Regions from separate parts of the Homo sapiens genome. Here all the other regions are linked to region 3. The links are contacts of gene promoters, found by promoter capture Hi-C in blood cells and fetal thymus (Javierre and others, 2016). All regions are on one chromosome and are shown on one strand. The core of a region is centred on a gene start or on the middle of the fragment in contact, and the rest is flanking DNA. Distances in the headings are between cores, read along the strand shown. Region 1 overlaps GDAP2 (ganglioside induced differentiation associated protein 2). Region 2 overlaps GDAP2 (ganglioside induced differentiation associated protein 2). Region 3 holds the start of TENT5C-DT (TENT5C divergent transcript).

Region 1 (3,784 bases), core at 853-3,352, 310 kb before region 3:
TTCCCCTGTGTTGTCTATTTCTTGAGCATGTGTTTAGTCTCCCCTTTTAGTTTTTGTTAGAGGCTTTTCTCACTTTCTGGTGATCCTTAAGTGTTAGCTGGATTTAAGATGGAAGAACTGAAAAGTTCATGGGAAACTTTGTACACATGGGTGTCTAAGTCATTTCAGGCTGCTATAACAAAGTATCCTAGGCTGAATGGCTTAGGAAGAACAGAAATTTCTGGAGACTGAAATCCAAGATCAGGGTGCCAGCATAGTCAAGTTCTGCTAAGGGCTGTCTTCCTGGCTGCAGACTGCTGAGTTTTCATTGTATTTTCACGTGGCAGAGAGAGGGAGCAGACTCTCTGGAGACTCTTACAAGGATTCAGATCTCATTCATGAAAGCTTTACCCTCATGAGCTTATCTAATTCTAATTACCCCCAAAGACCCTACCTCCTAATACCATCACATTAGGGGGTAGGGTTTAACATATGAATTTTGAGGGAACCGAAGCATTCAGTTCATAACAGTGGGCAACGGTTATTGCCTGGTGGGTCTTGAAGCATATGACAGAATGGGACTCCTGCCTGTTATTTTATTGGGGAACTTCCCCAGTTATCTGTAGGTCCTTTAGGTTTGGGCCTCTCAATTTCTTGGAAAGGAATCCTCCAGGAGTGTAAGCCTAGATGTCTGTTTTGAAAGCCATTTAGGGGCAGAGGGCTAGACCTTTCACTGTTAAGTATAACACTTTAACTAAATCCCCTCTTTTCAGCTGTGCCTGGGGTTCTGGAATCCAGAAACTCTCTAGTTGAGCATCTCCAGAGAATAAACTTCTTCCCTGCTGCTCTGGTGGTAAAAAAAAAAAAAAAATCATCACCTTACTGTGCTGGCTGGGGGAGGGGTTGTTGCAGATTTGACTGTTTTTATACAAACTTTTAACTGGACCTCCTCTTTTTAGCACCACATCCCACTTGACAGCATAGCCTTTACAAGTACTTAGGGCTCCAATTTCTGAGCCTTTTTAGCATTCTCTAGTAATAATAACAATAATTTCTTATGCATGTATGCACTTTGCATATAGTAACTCGTTTAATCCTGTGAAGTAAGTACTACTAGTATCCCTCTTAAATAGGAAATTGGGTTGTAACAAGGCTAAGCCCCTGCCCAGAGTGTCTTGACAGGAACTCAGGATTTGAATCAAAGCAGTCTGTCTTGTATCCAACACTGCTTTTCAGTACAGATCAACTTGCTTCGTATTAGTTATCTCATTTCTGCAAGCAATTAGGTTTGTCTGCTCTGTTGAGTCAGTTACTAGTCAGTTGACATTCTACCTTCCAAAATTTTGATGATGCTTATCTGCTTCATGGTCTTTCTCATTCTCTTTATCTGTCTCTGTGCTTATACCTATTGTATTGCTTCACTGTCATTTTGGGAACAGAAGTAACAGAGATAAATGCTTGTGTTCAGTCTGTATTTTTAACTGAAATTTCTCAAAGTTCTCAATACTTTCTCTGTTTCATGCTTTCATTTGTTTTTGTTTCTGTTTTCCTAACACATCCAAACTTATGTGTGTTTCCATTGTTTTCAGGGTGCCGAACAGGTGAAGCAAAATTGACAAAAGGATTCAATCTAGCTGCCCGGTTCATCATTCACACAGTGGGACCTAAATATAAAAGCCGCTATCGCACAGCAGCTGAGAGTTCCCTTTATAGCTGCTACAGAAACGTACTTCAACTAGCAAAGTATGGTCTACTCATTTTCTGGACATAGCATATCATACATTGTTAAAGGCCCCAGTTTTTAAAGATAAAGGCCCCAGTTTTTAAAGATTAAAAACCTAGCAGTGGAAGTCAAATTTTGAGGGACTTAGGTGATTTAGGAGGACCCTGACAATAGAATTATCTTTTCAAACTTAGCGGGATAAATGGGATAGATTTGAGTGACTTGAGAATTTAACCTTTTCCCATTTTTTATTCAGTTTTTATGTGAGATATATATCCTCCAAAGAGTGCAATTAAATTGTATATGAATAGAATTATTGAGTGGTACAGTTGGGTTAGCTATTATAGTAGATTTGTTGAAGAGGGAGGAAAGGAGAAGTTGAGCTAGATTTTGAAATTACTTATATATTGTTGTGTATGTATTACTGATATTTCTAGTGCAATTTTTGTGTTTTCCCTTTGTTGCAGAGAGCAGTCAATGTCTTCTGTTGGCTTCTGTGTCATCAATTCTGCAAAACGTGGTTATCCTTTAGAGGATGCAACACACATAGCACTTCGTAAGTAATATCAGAGATGCTGTACATGAATTGAATCTTAAAAATTTTTTAAATTCTGGGCATGGTGGCTTATACCTGTAATTCCAGCGACTTGGGAGGCTGAGGCAGGAGAATCACTTGAGGACAGAAGTTTAAGGCTGCAGTGAGCTGTGATTGCATCTATGAATAGCCACTGCACTCCAGCCCGAGCAACATATAGTGAGACCTCATCTCAAAAAAAAAAGGTTTTTTTTTTTTTTAATCATTAAATAGTTACAGCCAAAGAATATTCATTGATTAAGTGATTGTGGCTCCCTGGAGGGAAGTTTTTATTGGCAAGTTGCAGAGCTCTCAATTTACTTTTTCAGGTTGGCATTTTTATCCATTTGAATAACGGGTCAGAAGACTTGCCTATTAATTTTTTTAATTTAACAGAATTTAATTGAGCAAAGAATGAGATTTGAATTGGACGGCCCCCAAAACCAGAATAGATTCAGAGCAGCTAGCCTCTTGAATTTGAAAGTGATGCTAAGTTAGAAAGTATGGCTAATGCATTGAGTAGTTAAATCAGAATTTAGAATAATCTTAACAGTCTGTAACAAATGCAGTCAGATTTCATGATATCATATTTGTATAACACTTGGCAGTTTAAATAGCCACATTCACACATGCTATTTGAATGTAAAATTCTGCATTTAGGTTTTCAAAAGACTGGGCTCAGTCAATATGAGCCAAATGCCTGTATGTCACATAAAAATATGGCATTCAGCTAAAGAGAGTCCATGATCTCACTGTATATATGCAGATTTAGACCACATCTTGAGTTTTATATATATTTCTGTGTGTCATATTGCATGAGACACTGACAAACAGGAGGACAAACAGTTTGAAACAGTAGTGGTGTTTCTTCTAAAGAAGAGCATGCTTTTAGCAAATATGATGTCCATCTTCAAATATCTGAAGGAATCTCATTTGGACTTATTCTGTGCTACATTTTTCAAGCAGCAGTTCTTTGGGATATTGTCATAAACTACGATGAGCATCTGGTGAAAGAACACTATGGACCCTTTGTCAAGAAAAATGTGCATAAATACAGAATTTGCATGTTATTTCAGGAAGTTTACAGATCCTCATCAGGATTGTAGATAAGAACTCCAACTGTACAAGGCAAGGTCTAAGACCAAGTTATAAGGAAGAAAATGTTGGTCCCACTTGAAGTAGTACTAACTGTAACAGCAAAGTATTTTAGCGAACTTCTTGTCACTAGGAACATTCATGCAGAGGTTACAGGACCATCTGTTGCAGCTGTTATAGAAAACACTTCTCATTTCAGAGACGAACTATACTAAATCATCTTTAAGAGCCCCTGTTATCTCTAGAATTTAAAGTCGAAGAGCTGAAAGCCTTATATCCACAAATACCAAAAAGATATTTGAATGTATAAGTTATTATTATGTAGCCTGGAGTTTAGGGTGAGTATCTGTTCAGTCTTAGTCTTATTTAATTATAACCTATTTTAAAAACCAATATTCTAACTGCTCAAGGAT
Region 2 (3,955 bases), core at 992-3,491, 290 kb before region 3:
CAAACTATAAATGTCTACTATCCATTACCTTATAGGGTTGATGGAGGGTTAGCACCTCATAGGGTTTTTGTGAGCATTAAATGAGGTAATGTAATGAGCTTTAGCACAGAACCTGGTACTTGTCAAGCTCTTAAAATTGTTCACTGCTGTACTGAGCAAATCATGGCTTGTTTTATCTTTGAGCTTTGGTACTTGCCATTCCTTTTGAATGGGCTACTCTCATCCTTCAATTTCTGTCCAGATTTCAAAAGCAGTTGCCTCTGGAGACCTACCTCCCAAGTCTGGAACAGATGCCACCTCCTGTATGCTTTTTTCATACCCTGTACTCACCCAAAGCATAGCATAGCATTTTTCACGCTGTATTGTAATGATGTCTGCATGCTATCTGTCTCCACTGATAAAGTGGGAGTTGGACTACATGAACTCTCCAGTCACTTTCAGAACTAGTATTTTGTGTCTCCTCAATCCCAGGTCTTCCTTTATTCTGATTTTAATTTGAAAAACAAAAGCGTATGAGCCACTAGGGGGCACCAAGGAACAGCTTTTCCAAGTGAGGCAGTCACAGTCAAATGATACTTTCAGTGGTTTCTAAACTTGGCCATATGTGTAAGACTCATCTGATGGACATTTTTCATTAAATACGGTGCCTGGGCTCCTCACATTACTGGGATCTGGGACTTCTTTAGTATCGAGTCTCCTTTGCACTCTTAAAAATTGTTGAGGACCCCAGAGAGCTTTTGTTTTTATGGGTTGTATCTATCAATATTTATCACATGAGAAATTATTTATTTATTTTAAAATAACTTTTTTATTGAGAAAGATAGCAGTGTTTTTTTTTAATCTTGCAAATTGTTTAATGTTTGATTTAATGGAAGACAGCCAGATTGTCCTATCAGCATTCAAACTGCTGCAGTAAGTTGTTTTGACTAATGTATATGAAGAAAACCTGACCTCACTGAGATTTTAATTGGAAAATGGAGGAGTATTTTAACAGCCTTTTAAAATAATTGGGATATTCTTCTTTGATACTATACCAGAATTTGATAAATAGTAGTGTTTTAAAACATAGTTGTAATGCAGAATCTCAAACTGTATCCATGAATTTTTTTAATTCTATTATATTAAAATGTGGTGTTCTGTACTTTGGACAGATTTTATAATAGGAATGTATAGCATGACTTTATAACATGATACGTTAGCTTTTTGGAAAGTATTGATTCATTGAATTATTCAGAGCTCCAAGTATTGACACATTTCATTACACAGTATCAAAAAATTATATTTGTTAGTATCGATTGTATAGTATCACCAATCTCATCAGAAAAGTATTTAATATTAGGAACTGTCAAGCTTCTGATGACAATAAAAATGTTTCAAATATGTATATATTTAAAGCTCAAGTTTTATCATTGGCAACAAATACTGTTGATTATTTTTCTTGAAATGTCAGGGTCACTTTATTCATTTTTGGGAAAACACCTGCCACATATTCATGTTGAATAACTACAGTTTGCCAGTCATTCTTTGAAGTAAAAATGGTGTTGCATGAAAAAAAGCAACTAGTCCAGCTCACAACTCAATCAAATAGTGCTTTTCTTCAAGGCAACTTCACACTTCAATATGCAGAAGTACTTTATGTGTTCTTCCATTTTGTCTTCCATTAATTTAAAAAGATGGGTTCTCAAGAACTGATTTAATAAAATTAATAATCTTTACTTCTACATCGAAGACATTCTTAAATGCAGCTGGCCTTTTTTGTTTATTGGTGCCACTGCCTTGATTTGTGGTAAGGCTATTACCAGCTGTTTTTACCCATTAGTTGCTTTTGCACTATCAATGTAAATGTCTATGCAGTGAAAAATGCAAATAATGTTATTACAAAAATAGTTTTAAACTTACAGCCTCCTAAAGGCATTTCAGGATCTCTTTAAGAAAAAAATTGGCCAGACATGGTGGCTCATGCCTCTGTTCCCAACTACACAGGAGGCTGAGGAGCCCAGGAGGTGGTGGAGATTGCAGTGAGCTGTGATCACACCACTGCACTCCTGCCTGGGCGAAAGAGAGAGACCCTGTCTCAAAAAAAAAAAAAAATGTTATTGAGACTTATTTTTCTTTTTCATTCACATTCTCTCACAGTGTTCAATGGAGTTTTCTGGAGGCCACTCACTATGTGATATTACAGTAATTTAAATGCAGACGCACATATGAGAATCTAGCAGAAATTAAAGAGATTTGCAAGTTAAAAAATACAACTCTTCTCTAAATACAGCTTTTTTAAAAAAAGTTATGTTCACAAAATAGGTTTTTCATTGTTTTTAAATTAATGAATATTTTTTAAATTTCTCTGTTTTTATTTCTAATGAGAACTGGTAGATATAAATGACACAAACAAAAGATGTTTAAGGTCCTCAATAATTTATAAAAACATAAAAATGTCTGTGTTTTATATAGATATATTTTGGTCCTGAGACCAAAAAGTTTTAGAATTGATGGCTGTTTATTGAGGAGTTTATGATATAACTAAGCTATGTCAACTGTTTGCATGCTCAGCCGTATTTGAGATTGTAGGTTGTAGTTTTTAAAATTTCTTTCTCTTGATATTTCTAAATCGGGCTTTTATTTTCACATATTGAGTCTGGCTTCTGTTGATTATGTTAATTAATTAGGTTGAACAAATGTAAAAGTAAGTAGGTTTTTAGTTAGTAAATATCTTTTCAAAAGCCTTCAATTCTTCCATCAGTAGCGAAACTAAAGGTCACATGGATTGGCAATAGTTTTATGTCACTCCTTTCGTAGCACTGCCTTGTCACCTCAGTATCTCTTCAAAATAATTGTTTTTAACATGAAAAATTAGACGTGCTTTCTAATCCAGGTCTGTCATCCAGTTGTGATTCTGATTTGGGTGTATCATAAGGTAGACATTGGTTTACTTACCAAAATTAGGAAGCAACCTAGATACTCTTTTTCAAAAATACTGCTTTTGAAACTCTTCAAGTTATTTTACAGGAAGATTTCCTTTCCTTTTTTATTAGTATTACTTGACTGGCTTAAGATTCAATTGCCTGTGACTCTTATGTCATTTTTCTCAACAAAATCATTATCTTTTTCATTATTAAATACTTATTAAGCTTTTACTAATGTGCCAAATGTTGTGCTGGATACTACTGGTAATAAAGTGACAAGCAAGACAGATACAGCACCCGCCTGCATGGAGCTTAGGGTCTTGCAGAGGAGAAAAATGTTAAACTAATTAGTATATGAATAATTGTTTAAATTACTGTACAGGGTCAATAAGAGGATACAACAAAGATCTTAACTAAATCTAGGATGGGTCAATTGTATAAGGTCTGGGAAAGCATCTGCTAATTCCAAAGACAGAATTTTCCCTGGGCGATGATTATACACAGATGGGTTAGTTATTAGTCTTTTAAGAGTGATACAGTTTAAATTTTTTTTGTCATTCAGCTGCTGGCTGTACAGGTGGATGGTAATTTATTAACTGGAAGAAACTGGCTTATATTAGCTTTGTGAGAACAGTGTCCAACCTCAGTTGGTTGCAACCCATTGAGAAACTAATTAGTGTTTCTGCATTTAGAGCACTGTAGTGGCTATTTTTTTCTGCCATTTTGACATATTTTGTACGATTATTTATCCATGATTATTATATTTACTCATAAAATAATAGAAGTTTGTTTATTTGGAATAAGAAAGTACTCTATATAGGATATTTAGGAAATATCCTGTAGGAAACCCAGAAACTATTTTGAGTTCATATTTTCCTTTTAGCTTTGTTTTGATTTTTGGATTGGAACAAAAGATTGCATGTCTTCCTTTAAACAAAACAAAACACTATAGCAAAAAGTGAGGTGCTGTTTATAAGAAATGTAATAGAAAACATGAAATATTCTTTGAATAATGAAGTTTAGAAAAAAAGGAGGGTATTGTCTATTGAGTG
Region 3 (3,877 bases), core at 743-3,242:
GGTCTCACACCCTCAATAATACCCTTGGGGATTTAAGACAGTAAAATTCTGGGTAAGCTCTCCTACCACTCTTGCGGCTGCCCAACTTACTTCCTGGGCTCATTTCCTTGCCAATTTACTCACGTTGAAAGGTTGCTGTCGCCAACAACGGTCACCCTCTTTCCTGCACGCAGAGGGCAGCTGAGCCAGCCAGAAGTGTACTTTGGGAGGATCTAATCACCCTAACTTTATTTCCTGGGCTGGTTCAGTCTCCTAACCCACCTACAAAGTAACCTGAAGACCAAGTTGTCACAATACAAATAATTATGCACATAGTATTTATAAAAGCTTTCTTACTATAAGTGCATTTTAAGCACTTCATTTGTATGCACTTTATATCTCCGTAAGAAAGCAAAAATGTTAAAAAGGAAGCAGGCCCCTACTTAATTAAGCCAGGGAACTGGTTAGAGCCCTACAAAAGCCTACCTATGGACAAAAAAGGGCGAAGGGGAAGGGAGCTGACACTATCCCTCCCGCAGGGTCCAGCCCTAATAGTGGGTTCTCCAGAAGCTCGCCAGGCATTCATTTCTCCAGGGGAGCGCCCTTACTTGGAGGTAGCGCTGCTTGGTTTTCTCGCCCGCCAGCGTTGAGTTCAGGTGTGCAGGCTACCAACCTGTATTCTTCAGGTAAGTCACCCTCCTCTGACTCGCCTCCCACCCTGCTCCCTCCTGCCTCGCGACCAGTGCGAAGGGAGTCCCCGAACTGCGACACCTCCCGGGGCAGCCGCACCGGTATCCGTCCGAGTCGACCCACTTGCCGTGGCTTTTCACCTACGCAGTAAAGCAAGTTTCATTTTCAAAAGGAGAGGAAGCAGGTTTCACAGACACCGCATTCCCAAGAAGTTTCTGAGAGACGCGCAGCGCACAAGTCACTGGCTTGGATCCCTTTGCTGCTCATGGTGTCCACAGTCTGATGTGAGCGCATTAAATTTAAGGATCTCCGCCCTTCTCCTTAAAACTCAGGACTTGGCAATGAGCCTAGGAAGCGCCCCTCCCCTCCCCAACCAGATCCAAGCCCCGGACCGCTGCGTCTCCAGCTGCGCCTAGTGAAACCGCCGAATTCGAATTCACACTCGGCGGGCCGGCGAAGGTGTGCGCGCCCGCGGGAGCGCCGGGGCGAGCCCGAGGGACTGCAAGCCAGGAAGGGAGGCATGGGTGGCGGGGGGCGCCGTCTGATCCAGGTAGGAGCGGAGGCGCCGATCACACACTCTTCAGACGCCCTGCCCGCGCCTGGCCAGCGCGCAGCCTGCAGGACGCGCGGAGCAGGAACTCGCTGGAGTTTGCCAAGCCCCAGGTCTCTGGAAAGTTGTAGCTCCCTTTCGGAGCGTCTCTTCTGGCCCTTTGGGACGGGTGTGTCAGGGGCGGGGGTCCTCGAGGGAGCAGGAGGGGAAAGGAGCACCGGGTCTCGGCACCTGTCCGCAGCTCCCCTCGGGTCCGCCTGCCCCCTACCAGGCTGGGCAAAGACCTGAGCACCACTTAGTGGGGGCGGACCCCCACTAAGTGAGCTCGCGGCTCCCTGGGGCTGCTGCCGCATCGCCGCACCTTTAGAGGAGGGGGGTCGCGGACTCACCTGGGCAATAGAAGAGGAGGCGACAGAGGCAGGTCCTTGGCGTGGGCAGGCCCCAGCAGGAGCGGCGCGACCTCTACAGCCCCTAGGCAGCGGCACCGAGTGAGCCGTCCCGCCGCCGCCCCCTCCGTTCTTATACGGCGGGACCACGCCCCCGTCCCCGCCCCTGAGCCGCCCTCCCGGGGGAGCCAGGGGCGGGGCGTGGCGGAGCCAGTCCCCTCGGGACCCTTCCGCCCGGCCCTGACGGCAGGGGCGGGGCGAGGGCTGCCCTCTGATTGGCTCTTCGGGTGAATGGTTGCCAAGAGACGAGTAAATCCTCAGCGGCGGGAAGGGGCGGGGTGCTCAGGGAGGCAGCACTGCGCAAGCGCAATAGAGGGGGCTGCGTCGACACCCACTTAACTTCGGAGTTAGTGGGACACCTTTCTTTTTGCTTAGTACGCTTTTCTGCTATTCCTGCCGCATAACTCTCTCTTCCCCAGGCTTTTCCCATCTCCATCCTATTCTCTCGCAGGCAGGTTTTTCTTCCGCCTCTCTGGGGATTTTCGCGTTGGTTCTCCCTGCCCCCAGGAGTGAGGCGGGTAACGCCCACGCCTACCTCCGGTGTGTGTTTTTGAAGTCGGAAAAAACTTAATGGTTTCTGGGCCCTGGGCACCTTTCTGATTCCCCAAGCAAACTGGCTGGAGGCGAAGGCGTGGTCTTCGGGGAGAGAGCGCCGGCGGCTCTCTGGCCCCGGGGACCACCTGTGTGCAGTTAGTGGGACGAAGGGCCTCGGGGAGTCCATCGCCAATGTCGGCAGCCGCAGCCGCTTCGGCCCCATTCGGAATGCCACAGCACTTGGTCCAGTGTGTTATATAACATGCAGGCAGGGCTTGGACACCATCCATTCATAACATAGCGAGTGGTTTACAGCCCAGGTTCTGAATTCAGACTAATCTGAGTTGAGATCTCCATGCACCACTTAAACTTTCTGTAAGGCCTTAGGCAAGTAACTGAACCAACCCTCCAACAACCTGCGTCTCCTATCTGTAGGACAAGACTAACAATGGGACAGCTCTGTAGAATTATATAAGTATTAAGAAAATACGTGGGAAACAATTAGTGCATTGCCTAGTGCCTGTTAGAAAGTGTGTGGCAAATGCTGTATGTATCAGATAGTAGCCAATGTTGGACAATGTTATTTATCAATAGACATTATTGTACTTGTATTGATCGTTTACTAGGTGCTGGGGGAAAAGATTACTTCCCAGATGCAGTATTTACATCTCCTCCGCCCTACTCTTCCAACCCTGCCTGAAATAAGTGTGGTTCTCCTGTCTGTCAGACTATGAAGAGTTCTCAAATATGTCTTTCCCAGCGAGGGAGAGGAGAGTGAGTATCCAGGAACTTTAATGCGATAGGACATCAATATGAGTGTTTATAGGGAAAGCCAGTGATCCTATTGTTAGACGCGAAATCAAGACATATGATCTGATTTTTTGTTTTACTTTTTGTTTTTGAGGTATAACATTCAGTAAAGCGCACAAATCAAAAGTGTCCAGAATGATAATTTTTTACATATGCATACCCATGTAACTGCCATCCATATCAAGATGTGGAACCTTTCCAGCTCATTCATGCCCCTTCCCATTCAGTATCCGACAAGGATTACCACTATTTTAACCTCTATCACCATAGATTAGTTTTACCAATATTTGAACTTGCTATGGATGAAATACATAACACGTACAATTTTATGTCTGGCTTCTCTTGCCCAACAGTGCGTCTATGAGATTCATCCATATTGTTGTGTGTAACAATGGTCCATTCTTTTTCACTACTGTGTATTACTTCATTATATAAATATTCAACGATTTGTGTACTCATCCTACTGTTGGTGGACATTTGAGTTGCTTCATGTTTCTGCCTTTGATGAAGCTGCTGCAGACATTCTTACACATGTCTTTTGGTGGACATAGCATTCATTTATGTTGGATATATATATATACCTAGGATTGGATTCCTGGTTCATAGAGTGTTCACATATTAAACTTTAAATACACTGCCAGTTTTTAAATTCGTATAACAATTTAGGTTCCAACCAGTGATATGAGATTTCCGGTTGTTTCACATCTTTGCCAGTATTGGTATTTTCAGTCTTTTTAATTTAAAAAGGGGGGGGATATGTATTTCATTGTGATTTAAAATTGCATTTTTTGATGATCAAGGATGTTGAGCAATTTTTCAGATGCTTATTGTTCATTTCAATACCCTTTTAATAAAGTGTCTGTTCAAG

The links. The method cuts DNA at HindIII sites, captures the fragments that hold promoters and counts their contacts. A CHiCAGO score of 5 or more calls a contact.
Region 1: a contact is called between a fragment that was not itself captured here and the fragment with the promoter of TENT5C-DT in region 3, in 1 of 17 cell types (naive B cells). The highest score is 5.7, in naive B cells.
Region 2: a contact is called between a fragment that was not itself captured here and the fragment with the promoter of TENT5C-DT in region 3, in 1 of 17 cell types (naive B cells). The highest score is 9.6, in naive B cells.

The regions. Positions count from the first base shown.
Region 1 is chr1:117,910,468-117,914,251 of GRCh38, reverse strand. GDAP2 (ganglioside induced differentiation associated protein 2) reads left to right here. Exons shown (of 14, transcript NM_017686.4): 4 at 1,569-1,722; 5 at 2,170-2,258. Among named protein-coding and RNA genes, the nearest start is that of GDAP2, 17 kb to the left of the region's middle. The HindIII fragment of the contact is 3,432 bases long and covers 387-3,784 here.
Region 2 is chr1:117,892,279-117,896,233 of GRCh38, reverse strand. All of the region lies in intron 8 of GDAP2 (ganglioside induced differentiation associated protein 2), which reads left to right. Among named protein-coding and RNA genes, the nearest start is that of GDAP2, 35 kb to the left of the region's middle. The HindIII fragment of the contact is 1,778 bases long and covers 1,353-3,130 here.
Region 3 is chr1:117,603,885-117,607,761 of GRCh38, reverse strand. TENT5C-DT (TENT5C divergent transcript) reads left to right here and starts at 1,992. Exons shown (of 3, transcript NR_121626.1): 1 at 1,992-2,116; 2 at 2,826-2,973. It overlaps TENT5C (terminal nucleotidyltransferase 5C), which reads right to left and starts at 1,714. Exons shown (of 2, transcript NM_017709.4): 1 at 1,609-1,714. RefSeq lists a silencer at 1,649-1,988 and enhancers at 1,899-2,399, 2,400-2,900. The HindIII fragment of the contact is 6,964 bases long and covers 330-3,877 here.